2 separate regions of the Homo sapiens genome follow, and region 2 is linked to region 1. The links are contacts of gene promoters, found by promoter capture Hi-C in human tissues and cell types (Jung and others, 2019). All regions are on one chromosome and are shown on one strand. The core of a region is centred on a gene start or on the middle of the fragment in contact, and the rest is flanking DNA. Distances in the headings are between cores, read along the strand shown.

Evidence for each region. Contacts are between HindIII fragments. The study calls those that stand out against the background at their distance.
Region 2: a contact is called between a fragment that was not itself captured here and the fragment with the promoter of COG3 in region 1, in 2 of the 25 tissues and cell types used here (dorsolateral prefrontal cortex and hippocampus).

The regions. Positions count from the first base shown.
Region 1 is chr13:45,461,185-45,467,980 of GRCh38, reverse strand. It overlaps COG3 (component of oligomeric golgi complex 3), which reads right to left and starts at 3,042. Exons shown (of 23, transcript NM_031431.4): 1 at 2,771-3,042. The coding sequence starts at 2,944. The HindIII fragment of the contact is 8,447 bases long and covers 1-5,963 here.
Region 2 is chr13:46,138,405-46,145,681 of GRCh38, reverse strand. LCP1 (lymphocyte cytosolic protein 1) reads left to right here. Exons shown (of 16, transcript NM_002298.5): 11 at 1,162-1,240; 12 at 2,278-2,392; 13 at 3,257-3,390. Among named protein-coding and RNA genes, the nearest start is that of CPB2, 37 kb to the right of the region's middle. The HindIII fragment of the contact is 5,349 bases long and covers 374-5,722 here.

The DNA of each region.
Region 1 (6,796 bases), core at 1,793-4,292:
CTCTTTCATAAAAGAGAAAGCTATTTTCTAAAGAAGTTAACATCTTTATGATATGTACTTAAGAGTTAGTTGGCCTCTTGCTATTCTACTAGCCTGCTCAGTTCCAGTTGTTCAGGAAGTAATTTATCTCGTGAAAATTGTGAAACACTACAGAAAATCCTTGAGTTATACTGATTGGACAAAATGAAAATTGTGGCACTCTCTTTTGCTGCCAATGTTAAAAGAGTAGTATAGGGCTAAAAAAATTAATTCCAAAGTCTTCCCAACAGACATATAAACACTTCAGAAAAGGAAAATGAGGGCTGTAAAGCTGAAGAGCAATGAGAACTGCCTTCTCAAAGATTCCAGGATGTGTGCATAACCAGCTCGGCTACTGCATTCTTTTTGAGACAGAATCTTGCCTGTCACCCACCCAGGCTGGAGCGCAGTGGTGCAATCTCGGCTCAGGGCAATCTCTGCCTTCTGGGTTCAAGTGATTCTCATGCCTCAGCCTCCCAAGTACCTGGGATTACAGGCATGCACCACCACACCCAGCTAATTTTTATATTTTTAGTAGAGATGGTGTTTCGCCATGTTGGCCAGGCTGGTCTTGAACTCCTGACCTCAAGTGATTCTCCCGCCTTAGCCTCCCAAAGTGCTGAAATTACAGGCGTGGGCCACCGCACCTGGCCTCAGCTATTGCATTCTCACAGGAATCCAATACCAAGCTGCACGTACCAGAAGACCCTCACTGAATTCTTGAACTCATTAAGCTCATCCTCTACCCATGACCTTATGCTGTTCTTTCTTCCAGCTGCAATGTTATTTCTTTAGTCTTTATGAGGCTAGCTTCAGGTAGTCCATCATCAGTTCTCACCTCAGGCTGTCACTTCCTTGGAAAGGTCTTCCCTCTTTCTCTAAAAGGGCACACCTCATCCTTTTCTGTCACACCATCCTATCTGATTTTCCTTATATTATGGACCACCATCTGAACATACCTTCTTTGTTCTTTTTTTCCATGTTCATGATCCCCACAATTATGTCAGCTCTATGAGGCTAAGGATCTCATCTTTCCTATTTATCTTTCTATCTTCAATACCTAACTCAGAGTAGGGACATAACATATGTTAAAGACTGCATGTGGCTAATGATAAATATGGAAGAATGGGGTGAAAATGAAAGATTCCATTTAGTTCATTCCAAACGTTCTCCTTCATGCTCAATGAGAATAAGAAATAATAGTTTATGACCCATGACAATGAAAACAAATTTTTTTGTAGAATATGTATCTCCCCCATCACACCCTCAGTGCTATTAAGTCCAAGCATCCTGCTGCAGTAGGAGCCAAATCAATTATAAACAGACTGGAAAATTTATAGAGCAAACAACTTTTATTATCCAGGGTATAAAAGAGTTTGATAGCTGAGCCAAAGAAATTTCCACCTGCGCCTTCATTGATTTCAGATCCACTTCCGGTACCATATCCTAGAGGTGGAAAAAGAAACCCAAGAAAGAACGCCTATTTGATGGCTGAGCATACAACAGTGAATGTGAAGAGAACGTTTAAATCAAATCTCTAAAGTTGGAGGACAGAAAAAGTTGAAGACTCTAAACTCAATCTGCATTTGGACACAATTCCAAATCGTATAAAAAGAATGCTTCAGGCCAGGCACGGTGGCTCACGACTGTAATCCCAGCATTTTCGGAGGCCGAGGCGGGCAGATCACTTGAGGTCAGGAGTTCGAGAACAGCCTGGACAACAGGGCGAAACCCCATCTCTACTAAAAATACAAAAAATTAGCCGGGTGTAGTGGCAGGCACCTGTGATCCCAGCTACTCGGGAGGCTGAGACAGGAGAATCGCTTGAACCCGGGAGGTGGAGGTTGCAGTGAGCCGAGGTCACGCCACTGCACTCCAGCCTGGGCGACAGAGCGAGAGAAAAGAATGCTTCCAACATCAAAAGTAACCATCACCACTGCTTATATAAAATAATCCTCCTAAACCTGGCCCTCAAAACTGGAAAACGTTTGTCAAACATCTGACAATTCATGTTACTTCCTGCTATTACAACTAATTGAATTGAATCACACAAGAAGCAGTAGTGCATAATATCCTAATGGTAAGTGGATTAAACACATTGACTCTAACACCGAAAACCAGCACTGCTTAATAATGTACTGAGCCAACTTTCAAATAAAATTCATTTTTATTGCTTTGCAATAGGTGAAATAAATCTGATCTCCCATAACTTGCACTTGATTGAGAGCTCATAGTTCAATGTGCGATAAATGAAACTCACTCAGGACCAAGTTTTGGTCTCCCCAAGACCCCCATGGACAAAGCAACCTAGGTGAATCATTAAGGCGGTAAACGAGCACGCGCTGGAGACTGTCCTGCAGCACAGCACCTCGGGTTGACTGCCTCTCCTTCTGGGAGAGAGTGGGCAGCAGGATTACGCCTCGGCTGACAGGACGCCTCGTCTGGGGCAAAACGTTCGGTGCAAGGCTCCGGGCCAACCGTCCCATGCTGCTGGGGGAGGACTGGGTTCCGGCGAGCACCAGCTGCAGGACACCCCCACAGCCGTCCCCAGGCAGAATTAGAGTCGGGGTCGCAGGCAGAGCGAAGCCTGACAGCCTGGGAGATGAGGCCCCTCCCACCGGATCCGCCACCATGGCCAGGGAGGAGTGGAGAGATATCCTGGGCAGAGGCTAGTGAGGCCGGGGTCCTGCCGGGGCGCCCGAGGAGAATCCCAGCCCCATCGCCCCGGCCCGGTTCCTGCCCATCACCTCACCTCAGCTGGCACCGGCAAGTTCTCTGCCGCCGCCTTCAGCTCCAATACCGAGTCCGTCTGCCTGTCGGTCAGCGGCGCCGTCGTGTCCGGTCTCCGATCCCAGAGAGCCAGCTTTTCCCTAGCGTCCCGCTCCGCCGCCGCCTCAGGCAGCAGCAACAGCGCCGCCTCCGCCATCGCCGCCGCCCTCGCGGCCTTCAGCAGCAGCGAGATGGAGGGGACCCCGACAGAGAGACCTGGGCCACTTCCGGGAGAACCGGAGCTTCCAACACTGCACCGGCGGCGGGGCGGGACGGAATGCCCTGACCCCGGAAACGGTTCCGCAGTGTGGGGGGCGGGACCGAGGCCAGTACCGACGTGGCTTTAAATGGGTACGACTATTTCCGGTTGAAACGTAGAAGGTGGAGAAGACAGGACCCAATGGAAATAGAAATGCCCCTACCGGAAGTCTTTTCCTCAACATCAATAACTTTATTGTTACGTGTTGTACAGATTATTGACAACTGCGCTAAATCACCCTGCCGGCAGGAGACTTGGATCTACACCTCTCTGCTTACAGCTGGGTAGTCTGGGTAGAATGTGTGGAGTGTATGATTTCCATGTTGGCATGTTGACAATTTATGCCTCTTGGATCAAAACCAAAAGCATAAACTTTTCCAACATCCAGTAATTCCCCTACTAGAAAACTAATTTACGGAAACACATAAAAAATTCAAAGATGTGTGTATCTCAGACATCATTAATGGTATCAAATAACTGGAGACAACCTAAATGTCCAACATTGAAGAACTGGATCAAGAATTTGTGGCACAGACCAGGCGCGGGGGCTCAGGCCTGTAATCTCAGCACTTTGGGAGACCGAGGTGGGCGTATCACCTGAGGTCAGGAGTTTGAGACCAGACTGGCCAACATGGTTGAACCCCGTCTCTACTAAAAGCACAAAAATTAGCCAGGCGTGGTGGCACATGCCAGTAATCAGCCTGAGAGGCTGAGGCAGGAGAATCTCCTGAACCTGGAAGGTGGACGTTGCAGTGAGCAGAGATCTTGCCACTGCATTCCGGCCTGGGCATCAAGTGAGACTGTCTCAAAATGTATAATAATAATAATTTGTGGTACAGACATGTAATTCTACTCTACCATTTAAATCATATTGTAGATTTGAGCAACAAAATAAATAATGATAGTATTGGATCATAATTTACAGAATAAAATAAATACCCATGAGTCCATACTGCTATAAATAAACGATTGAATAAATAAATGGTGGAGAACAGACAATCTTCTACAAGTTATGGAGGCCTCTTCCTGCTCCTCCCTGGAGTCAAGGCAGGTGGAAACAGCTTCGTAGCAATTTTGACCATTGTCTGGGTAAAGTCTGAAGGCTTTATTCAGGCTTTATAGCACAAATCAGTGCCTGGCTATGTTCCCAAATGAAGGCTCTGATCTTTTAAGAGCAGAATTTGAGACCGGGCGCAGTGGCTCACACCTGTAATCCCAGCACTCTGGGAAGCCGAGGTGGGCGGATTACCTGAGGTCGGGAGTTCGAGACCAGCCTGATCAACATGGAGAAATCCCGTCTCTACTAAAAATACAAAAAAACTTAGCTGCGCGTGGAGGTGCATGCCTGTAATCCCAGCTACTCGGGAGGCTGAGGCAGGAGAATCGCTTGAACCCAGGAGGCGGAGGTTGCTGTGAGCCAACGTTGCACCATTGCACTCCAGCCTGGGCAACAAGAGCTAAACTCTGTCTCAAAAAAAAAAAGAATAGAATTTGAAGTTGGAAGAGAATTTTAAAATCATATAATCAAGCCCTTTCTGTCTACAGAGGAGCAAACTACAACCCGTAGAGGTGAAGCAAGCAGCCTAACATCCTGCAATCAGGTGGTTAACATCAGCGTCACCACTGGAACTTAGATATCCTGACTGTGTCTGACACCCTTTATATACCACAGCTTCTCCAAGTTGCCTGCTGTACAAAGCCCTTAAAAAATCTGCAGATCCCCAATGTTGATGTAAATAATTGTATTATATTGCTTAAGTATGAACAAAAATAAGACTTGACATAAGCTTTGGATGTTTATACCAAAATAGACATGCAAGTTACATGCCAACAGAAATATAACTAACATATAACGGTATATAACCAATAACATTCACATTAACAACTCAAGTGAGATGTGGGATATTATTTTGCTGGAAAACGAAATTGCTTCTGGCAACACGAAGACAGTCCTGACTACTGCTATACAGCTGCTTGGGAGTTCATCACACTTCTGTTATACCAGCAGCATGCTGTGTTCCCCACCATTTGAACTACTGGGAACACTTGACTCAGGGTAAATCCCTAATACCATTTTTCCTTTATCTGGCTTGTATATATCATTTGCATATTAAAACAACCCTGCTGTTTTTAGTAGCTTTATTAAAAATATTCTATATGCACAAACAAGGAGGGTGGAAGCTGAAATCATGTGGTAATCCTAAACTATAAAACTGTCATGTTGGTGATCCAGAATATGCATGAATATAGTTTTAAGAGTTGAAATGAGGCTGGGTGTGGTTGCTCACGCCTGTAATCCCAGCACTTTGGAAGGCTGAGGCGGGCGGATCATGGGGTCAGGAGATCGAGACCATCCTGGCTAACATGGTAAAACCCAGTCTCTACTAAAAATACCAAAAATTAGCCGGGCGTGGTGGCAGGCACCTGTAGTCCCAGCTACTCGGGAGGCTGAGGAAGGAGAATGGCATGAACCCGGGAGGCGGATCTTGCAGTGAGCTGAGATTGTGCCACTATACTCCAGGCTGGGCAACAGAGCGAGACTCTGTCTCAAAAAAAAAAAAAAGAGTTGAAATGAAAACAAATATTTTAAAAATGTAATCACAAGCTCTAGTTTGAGAAAGACTGCACCACATCCTACTGTCTACTGCCCTAATAAAGACATAGACCATGGTTAAACTTTCCTATTACCTACTACAAGTGTCTGCAATTCCACATTTCTTTGCTTCCTAGGGTTTTTCACCCAGTAATATCTTAGAATAGGCCCCTGGAAATGGAAAAATGCCTAAGGGACAAGGGGCAGAGGTGCTCTAGATTGAGGAAGGGGAGAGATAGGGAAGGAGACGGCGGTAAGGATCCAAAGACCTCCTTATAGTGAGGGCTTCATAGCCTCGCCATGGTCAGCCCTCCTCAATGACTCAAACCTGGACACTGCAAAGGACCCCCGCTAATAATGTGGCATTGCAAGAATAGCTCATGTGTTGATTTCCAAAGCACCTCTCATCTGCTGCTCACTTTCACTCAGGTAGGTAGTTGGTGGATATTATTTTTTGCCCTATTTAATGAATGATAAAAACAAACTTCAGGGAGGTTTGTGAGCTGCTCAGGATAACAGTTAGTAAAGGGCAGACCTGTCATTGGAACCAGGACACTGGGCAGGACCTTCTCTTTTCCCTCTGTGCTAACACAAATGAAAGTGAGCAACATGAACCCATTCGTACATTTGAACCCATTCGTACTTTTTTGTCACAGGACATTTTAGCAAGCATGAGTTCCAAGGATGAGCATTACAGGCTGGCAGAACTGCTTCCCAGCATTCTATGGTACTTCAAGGTTGTACTAGTGCCAAAACACTAAACATGGCGTAAAAGAGGAAGAACGTTAGAACACACAGACTTCTCAGATCATTTTCCATTTTACTTCACTGCTTATAAAACAGCAAAGTTACAAAATGGAATAGTTCAAATCATTCTTATACACAGCTGCATGTGTACAATTGCCTCGTGAATTTTCAGAGCACGTTCTTGTGGAATTGATGGATTTCTTTATGTATACTCTCCAGCCTATTATCAGAAGAACCACTTCCCTTGCTATAGGTTTCTATAGCTTCATCAAGGGTCTGAAGATCTGTTTTCCTTTTCAAATTATTTCCTTTCTTACTCACTTTATCAATTTCTCATTTACACATCAGTGACTATAAATCACTGTAAACCTTGACAATTTATTTAAATAGTAGCTAAGGCTTTATTTCAT
Region 2 (7,277 bases), core at 1,799-4,298, 680 kb before region 1:
CGCCTCGGCCTCCCAAAGTGCTGGGATTACAGGCGTGAGCCACCGCGCCCGGCCTGCCCTCTTTTAGAAATGCTCCATTTCCATTAATCATACCATTTTTTTTTCTTTAGTCACCAAACTAAAGAGCTTGGATCCTACTATATCTTCCTATCCTTCATCCCTACATCCACTAAATCAGCAAATACTAATAATTCTTCCTTTGGAACATTTTCTCAATTGTTATGTTTCTTTTATGCTATTCCAAGCTCATTACCTCATACACTAATTATTTTAATGGATCTTGGAGTCTCCATTTATCAAATGCTTGAATGTATCCCACATGCTAATGTCAAACACTCTGTCCTCTGCCGTGTTTAATTCAAATGCATATCGCCTTTCAGTGATTCTGCACACTGCTGCCAGTCACATCCCGGTACTGATTTTATTATATCTCTGCCTTGCTCAAGAATTTATTGTAGTAATTTTACAAAGCCATAATGACTGCCGTTGTCTGTCAACTAAAATCTGCTACCTGGTATCCAAAGATCCCCAATTCTGAATCCTTCTTCCAGATAGGCTTATCTCATTGGGCTGTACAACACACACCCCTGACCAAACCAGTTCCTGATGTTCTTAATAGAGACCTTGCCTGTTGCTCCCTTTGTATGCATATTTATACTACCTTCTACTCCCACCCCTTGCTATCTCCCCAAATCCTCTACTCTTTCCTTTTTCTGATCCAGATTTTGCTAGCTATCCAAGGACAAGTTCAAATTCCACCCCTTCCAAGTTCAGTCCATACTGTTCTTTTCCCTGTCTCAATTCAAATAACAAATATATCTACCTCATAAGTGAGTTCTGTAGCTTGTATGATCTCTGTTTGATGCCTAAAAGTCCTGTTTTTTCCAGCAAGAAGGTAAGCCTTTGAGAGCCAACTGAACAGCTACCCCACACAGGATTCCACACACTATTAATAGATACTATAGAAATACATGCGGAATTGAAATGGAAAAGAAAAATTAACACAGTATAAGAACCCTCGTCCAAATCCAATACAGTTTATTTTATTTCTTTCTTTCATTCTACTTTCAGTTTTTATTGCATCCTCTTTAGTTAAACTTTGGTCATAAAAAAGCTATGTTTTCTTCGGTCCCAAAAGATAACCCATCTTCATTCATCTAGGTGAGACGAGAGAAGAGCGGACATTTAGGAACTGGATGAACTCCCTGGGTGTTAACCCTCGAGTCAATCATTTGTACAGGTAGGAATATTTGGGAACTCATTCTAATGTAAGATAGAGACCTCAAAAGAGCCATAGGATTCCAAATACCACTATGATGTGCATTCTCTTCACAAAATGTGCATACCTTGCTGGAAGGGGAAAAAGTGCCAAGTTGAGCTTCAGATGTTGGATATTCAGTTGAAAAACTCACCTGCATACATCAGTCTCACTGTGTGCTCAATATATAAATCATACCTCAACAAAATGAAACATTTACTATATGTCATAAGTGATCTTACATATAACCCGCTCACAAGCAGGCAAAACAACAGATGTTAAGTTTGTGGTGAAGTGTCTCCTATGCCACTTGTTAAAGCAATTTTCTTCTTTTTTTTTTCAATATTTCTTTTTTTTTGAGATGGAGTCTCGCTCTGTCGCCCAGGCTGGAGTGCGGTGGCGCAATCTCGGCTCACTGCAAGCTCTGCCTCCCGGGTTCACGCCATTCTCCTGCCTCAGCCTCCCAAGTAGTTTGGACTTCAGGCACCTGCCACCATGCCTGGCTAATTTTTTGTATTTTTAGTAGAGACGGGGTTCCACCTTGTTGGCCAGGATGGTCTTGATCTCTTGACCTCATGATCCACCCGCCTTGGTCTCCCAAAGTGCTGGGATTACAGGCGTGAGCCACTGCGCCCGTTCTAAATATTTCTTTTACATTTATTTAGTTTTACAAATTGTAAACCTTTAGGTACAGGGGACATGTGCAGGTTTGTTATATAGGTTAATTGCATGTTGCAGGGGTTTGGTGTACAGATTATTTCGTCACCATAGTGCTCTTTCTTTTCCTGAGGCAGCATATGTTGGATGGAAGGGCATAGCTAGTCACACCTGGGAAGAGTGAGTCCCCCAATCTCTCTGAGTCATGGTTTCTTCACCTCTATAGATGGAGCTACGACTACCAAGTGTGCAGGGTTGTTGTGAATATTCTTTGAACTAATATGTAAGAAAGTGTCTGGCCCATTGTAGGCCCTGAATAAATGTTGGATATCTGAGAATCCTTTTGTGTTTGTTTTGTTCAGTGACTTATCAGATGCCCTGGTCATCTTCCAGCTCTATGAAAAGATCAAAGTTCCTGTTGACTGGAACAGAGTAAACAAACCGCCATACCCCAAACTGGGAGGCAATATGAAGAAGGTAAACAATGATGGTTCTGTTGTTCCAGGAGACAGGCAAAGTCATAGCCTGCAAGAGCACTCTAAATACTTTATAAGGCAGCCAAACGTAGACAAGTAATGTTTTTCCAGAAATTAAATTCTAGTACAGCAATCAGAAACCTGAACAGCTTTATTAAAGTGTGTCCATTATTTCAGTCAATTGCTTATTTATAATTCCATGTTGGATGTCTTCAAACATTATCATGCAAAAATTCTAATTAAGATAATTAGAGCAAGCAGAGAGCCACAGGGATTTTTCCCTCAGCAGGATCTTTATTCTAATTTCTAAAGAATTGGAGCTTGTACTGACAGCTTGACTTGTTCAAACAGTTTGTCGACTGTCAACACAGTGGGAACATTGTTTTGAAACAACAGGGTTGACACAGCCATTTCTCAGCATTTCTTATTGCCGTGACTGTTAATGATCCATGCGTAGCTACAGGAATATCTGTTCACATGTCCATTTGCTATGTGTGCAGAGGATGGAGACTCCAAATTTTCCATGTCAATCTCCATGAATTCACCTTTTTTAGAAATATTACATGTAGGTAATTAAGGATGGCTCTCCATTTCTGCAGTGTGATATAGCTGTGAACATATTCATAGTAATGAATTCATTTCAGTTTTCCACATTATGAATATTTTTTATGAAAGTGAGGGGTTCTAAGGACAGATGGAAAATTCTTTAATTTTGAATCCTAGAATTGCAGAACCAGTTGAGACTTGAGAGGTCATTCGGTCTTACCATATTTATTTCATTTTTTATCTTTATTTTTATTATTTATCTGGTATTTATCATAATCAAGATGATGACGTTAAATCGTTTTCCTTTCTGCTCATTCAGCTTGAGAATTGTAACTACGCGGTAGAATTGGGGAAGAATCAAGCGAAGTTCTCCCTGGTTGGCATCGGTGGACAAGATCTCAATGAAGGAAACCGCACTCTCACACTGGCCTTGATTTGGCAGCTAATGAGAAGGTAGTATAGCTTATGGAAGTGGCTTTTTCTTGAATACATTATTTACTTAGACAAATATTAGCAAATTTTTAGCAGTATGAGTTAATTCAGTAAAAGTATGTTTTAAGCTAAGCTTCATAACCAGAGAAACACTTTTTACCTTTCTGCTTTTTTTTTTTCAGTCCTATCAGTTTTTGTTTCAAGTATCGTGAAACTCTGTTATTAGGTTCATAAACAGTTTAGATTGTTGTTTCATTCTAATTTACTCATCCCTTTGTCCTTATAAAGTAGTCTTTTTTATGCCTACTAATATTCTTTTCTCTGAAATCTATTTTTTCTGACATTAATAGATAATAGCTACTATTGCTTCTATAGGCTTCCTATTGATTAGTGGTTAGCATGGCCTATCTTTTTACCATCCTTTTACTTCAATTGATCTGTGTAAATAACAATTACTTTTAAAGGGACTTTTTAAATAAAGGGGAAATTATGCTATATTTATCTACACATTTACTATTTCTAGTGCTCTTCCTACTATTTTATAGATCAAGATTTCCATTTGGTATCATTTTCTGTCTACCTAAAATATTTCTAATAGCACAAGTTTGCTGGTGATGAGTGATTTCAGCTTCTATATGTCTGAAAATGTCTATTTCATTTTCAAAATATTTTTTTCTCTGAGTGCAGAATTCTAAGTTGATAGTTTTTTCTTTCCGTACTTTAAAGATAGTTTCACTGTCTTCTGGCCCACATTGTTTCCAAGGGGAAATCTATTGTCATTCTTATTGTTGTTCCCTCATATGTAGTATTTCTTTTCTGGCTTATTTTAAGATTTCTCTTTATTACAGGTTTTAGGTAATTTTATTATGATGTACATTGTTGTTTCTTTTTTTTTTTTTTTTTTTTTGAGACAGAGTCTTGCTCTGTCGCCCAGACTGGAGTGCAGTAGTGTGATCTTGGCTCACTGCAATCTCCACCTCCTGGGTCCAAGTGATTCTCCTGCCTCAGCCTCCTGAGTAGCTGGGACTACAGGTCCACGCCACCATGCCCAGCTAATTTTTGTATTTTTAGTAGAGACGGGGTTTCACCGTGTTGGACAGGCTGGTCTCAAACTCCTGACCTAATGATCCGAGTGCCTCAGCCTCCCAAACTGCTGGGATTACAGGCATGAGCCACCATGCCCAGCTCCATTGTTGTTTCTTATGCTTGAGGTTTGTTGAACTTATAGAATCTATGGGTTTATACTTTCCATCAAATTTGGAAAACTTAACTTTCATCTCTTCAAACATATCTTCCATACCCACCAGCCCTGGTTCTGGGGGATTCCAAGTCCATGTATATTTGATCGTTCAAAGTTGTCCCTAAGCTCACCGATGCTTTAGTGATTTATTTTCTCTATGTTTCATTTTGTATAACTTGTATTGCTGTGTTTTCAAGTTCACTAATCTCTTTTATTTTGCATGTCTAATATTCCATTAACTCCATCCAGTGTACATGTTTTTTAACCTGGACATTATAGTTTCCATGTATAGAAATTTTGAGTCATTTTTATATTTCCCATAGCTGTCCTTTCCTTTACCTTCTTGAACATACAGAAAATAATTACAGTAACTTATTTTGGGATCTGTTTCTACTAATTTATTTTTATCTTCATTATGAGTCATATTTTTTGGCTTCTTTGCATGCTGCTAATTTTTTAATTATATGTCAAATATCATGAATTTGACCTTGCTGTGTACTGGATATTTCTGTATTCCTTTAAATATTCTTAAATTTAATCCTGGGATAGACTTAAGTAACTTAAATACAGTTTGATCCATTTGAGGCTTACTTTTAAGCTTAATTAATCTAGAGCTCATTTTGCTTGTTAGTAATGAGAAAATGGTCTTCTGAGTACTTTGCTTGATGCTCATGTATTATGAAATTTTTCCACTCCAGCTGGTGGGAACAAATTTTTCCAGCCTTGTGTGAGCCCCAAGGATTGCTCTCGTGGCTCATTTCTGGTGGGTTTTTCCCCACAGCCTCTAGTAGTTTCCTCACACATGTGCACTGAGTGGTCCTCAGCTGAAGACTGAGGGAAACCCTCTGAAGGCCGCTGAAGCTTTCTTTCTGAATGACTCTCTTCTCTCTATACAGTTCTCACCACTCTGATAGTCTTTCCCCTAAATTCTAGGCACCTGGGCTTCCTTCATTTCTCATCCCTGTTTCCTCCACTCAAGAGGATGGCCAGCTGTTTGGGTTTTCTCCTCCTATGCTGCAGCTTGGAAACTTTTTCCATGCTGGAAAAATCTTAAGGCTAACTTTGTTTTCTTCTTTTCAGGGGCCACTGTCCTGTGCTTCCTATTGTCTGATGTCTGAACAACATTGTTTCATATGTTTTTCACTGTATTATAAGTGTTTAAATGTGGGCCCTGTTATTCCATCATGGCCAGAAACAGAAGTTCCTTTCATACAAAACTTTAGATATGTTTTGGAACTGAATATAAACTTGACTAATGTGAGAAGTATAGGGTGATATTAGTTAAACAAAAATAGGTTATAAAAAGATACACAAATAGAAAATAAATTATAAGAAAAAGAAACAATTTTGGTACAAAATCATAAGCTTGGGAAGACTTTTAGATAGGAATTCTGTAAGTAATAAAATAATTTACTTGTAAATGCTTCAGTCTTTCCCCCTATACTAATAGCTCTGACAAGGCAAGAATCTTACATCCCCTCATTAGATCCTATGTTAGTGTGACTCAATTCATTTTCCTACCTGGAAGGAAGCCCCAGAAACTGCATGTCACATTACATTCTGTCTGGAAAGATAATGGCAAAGACAAGGTTCGTGGTGTGCCTAGGCACTGCAGCTTTAGTTCCAAGCCACTGTCTGCAGATCCTAATAATGGCCGGCTCTGGATGTAATCGTGTCAGTATTTCCAGATAAGGTAGGATAATCAGAAGTGATCATAAAAGATTTCACTCCCTGATTCACATTTGCTTTACTAAGTATAGAGCTCCATTACCCATTTCCACACTGGGGTCTCTTTAATGATGGGGGCAGATGTCATAAGGCTCCCCTGGTGCAGAAAACTCCAGAACTAAAGAAACTCCAACTCTGTCTTTTAGTTTACTGCATGTATCCAGAACATCATTGAAAACTCCTCAGGGCTGTTCTCACCAGTGTATTTCCAGATGATATTTCCAAGCTATCTTTATTATCTTCCACAAGTTTTAAATTTTTAACAGATTAGCAATTCATACTGATTGCTTTAAAAACCAAAGCAAAAGTCCTTTTAGTTGCAACAGTTAAACTGACTCATGGGTTTCAATATTAAATAATCTTTAATATATGCTATTTTAATGATTAAAAAGCTCAAGCCAGCGGGTGCGGTGGCTCATACTGTAATCCCAGTACTTTGGGAGGCCGAGGCGGGTGGATCACCTGAGGTCGGGAGTTTGAGACCAGCCTGGCCAGCATGGTGAAACCCCATCTCTACTAAAAATACAAAAATTAGCCAGGTATGCTGGTGCGTGCCTGTAGTCCCAGGTACTCAGGAGGCTGAGGCAGAAGAATCTCTTGAACCTGGGAGGCAGAGGTTGCAGTGAGCCAAGATCATGCCACTGCACTCCAGCCTGGGTGACGGAGCGAGACTCTGTCTCAGAAAAAAACAAACAAACAAACTCAGGTCAACCCCATTCTATGTTAAATTTCATAATATCTGAAAAACGTCTTGCAATATGATCTTTGGATGTTTTATAAAAATGTGGCTCAAAGCCCTATTTAATGGCTGGCACATACACAACAAGGTCCACTCTGCTGTTGCTGTCTCCACCTGGTTAAAAAGTCATATTTCTCATGAGTGTTTACTACATAAGAATCGTGCATTTAAGAAAGTAGACAGAAAAATATATTACTGTAG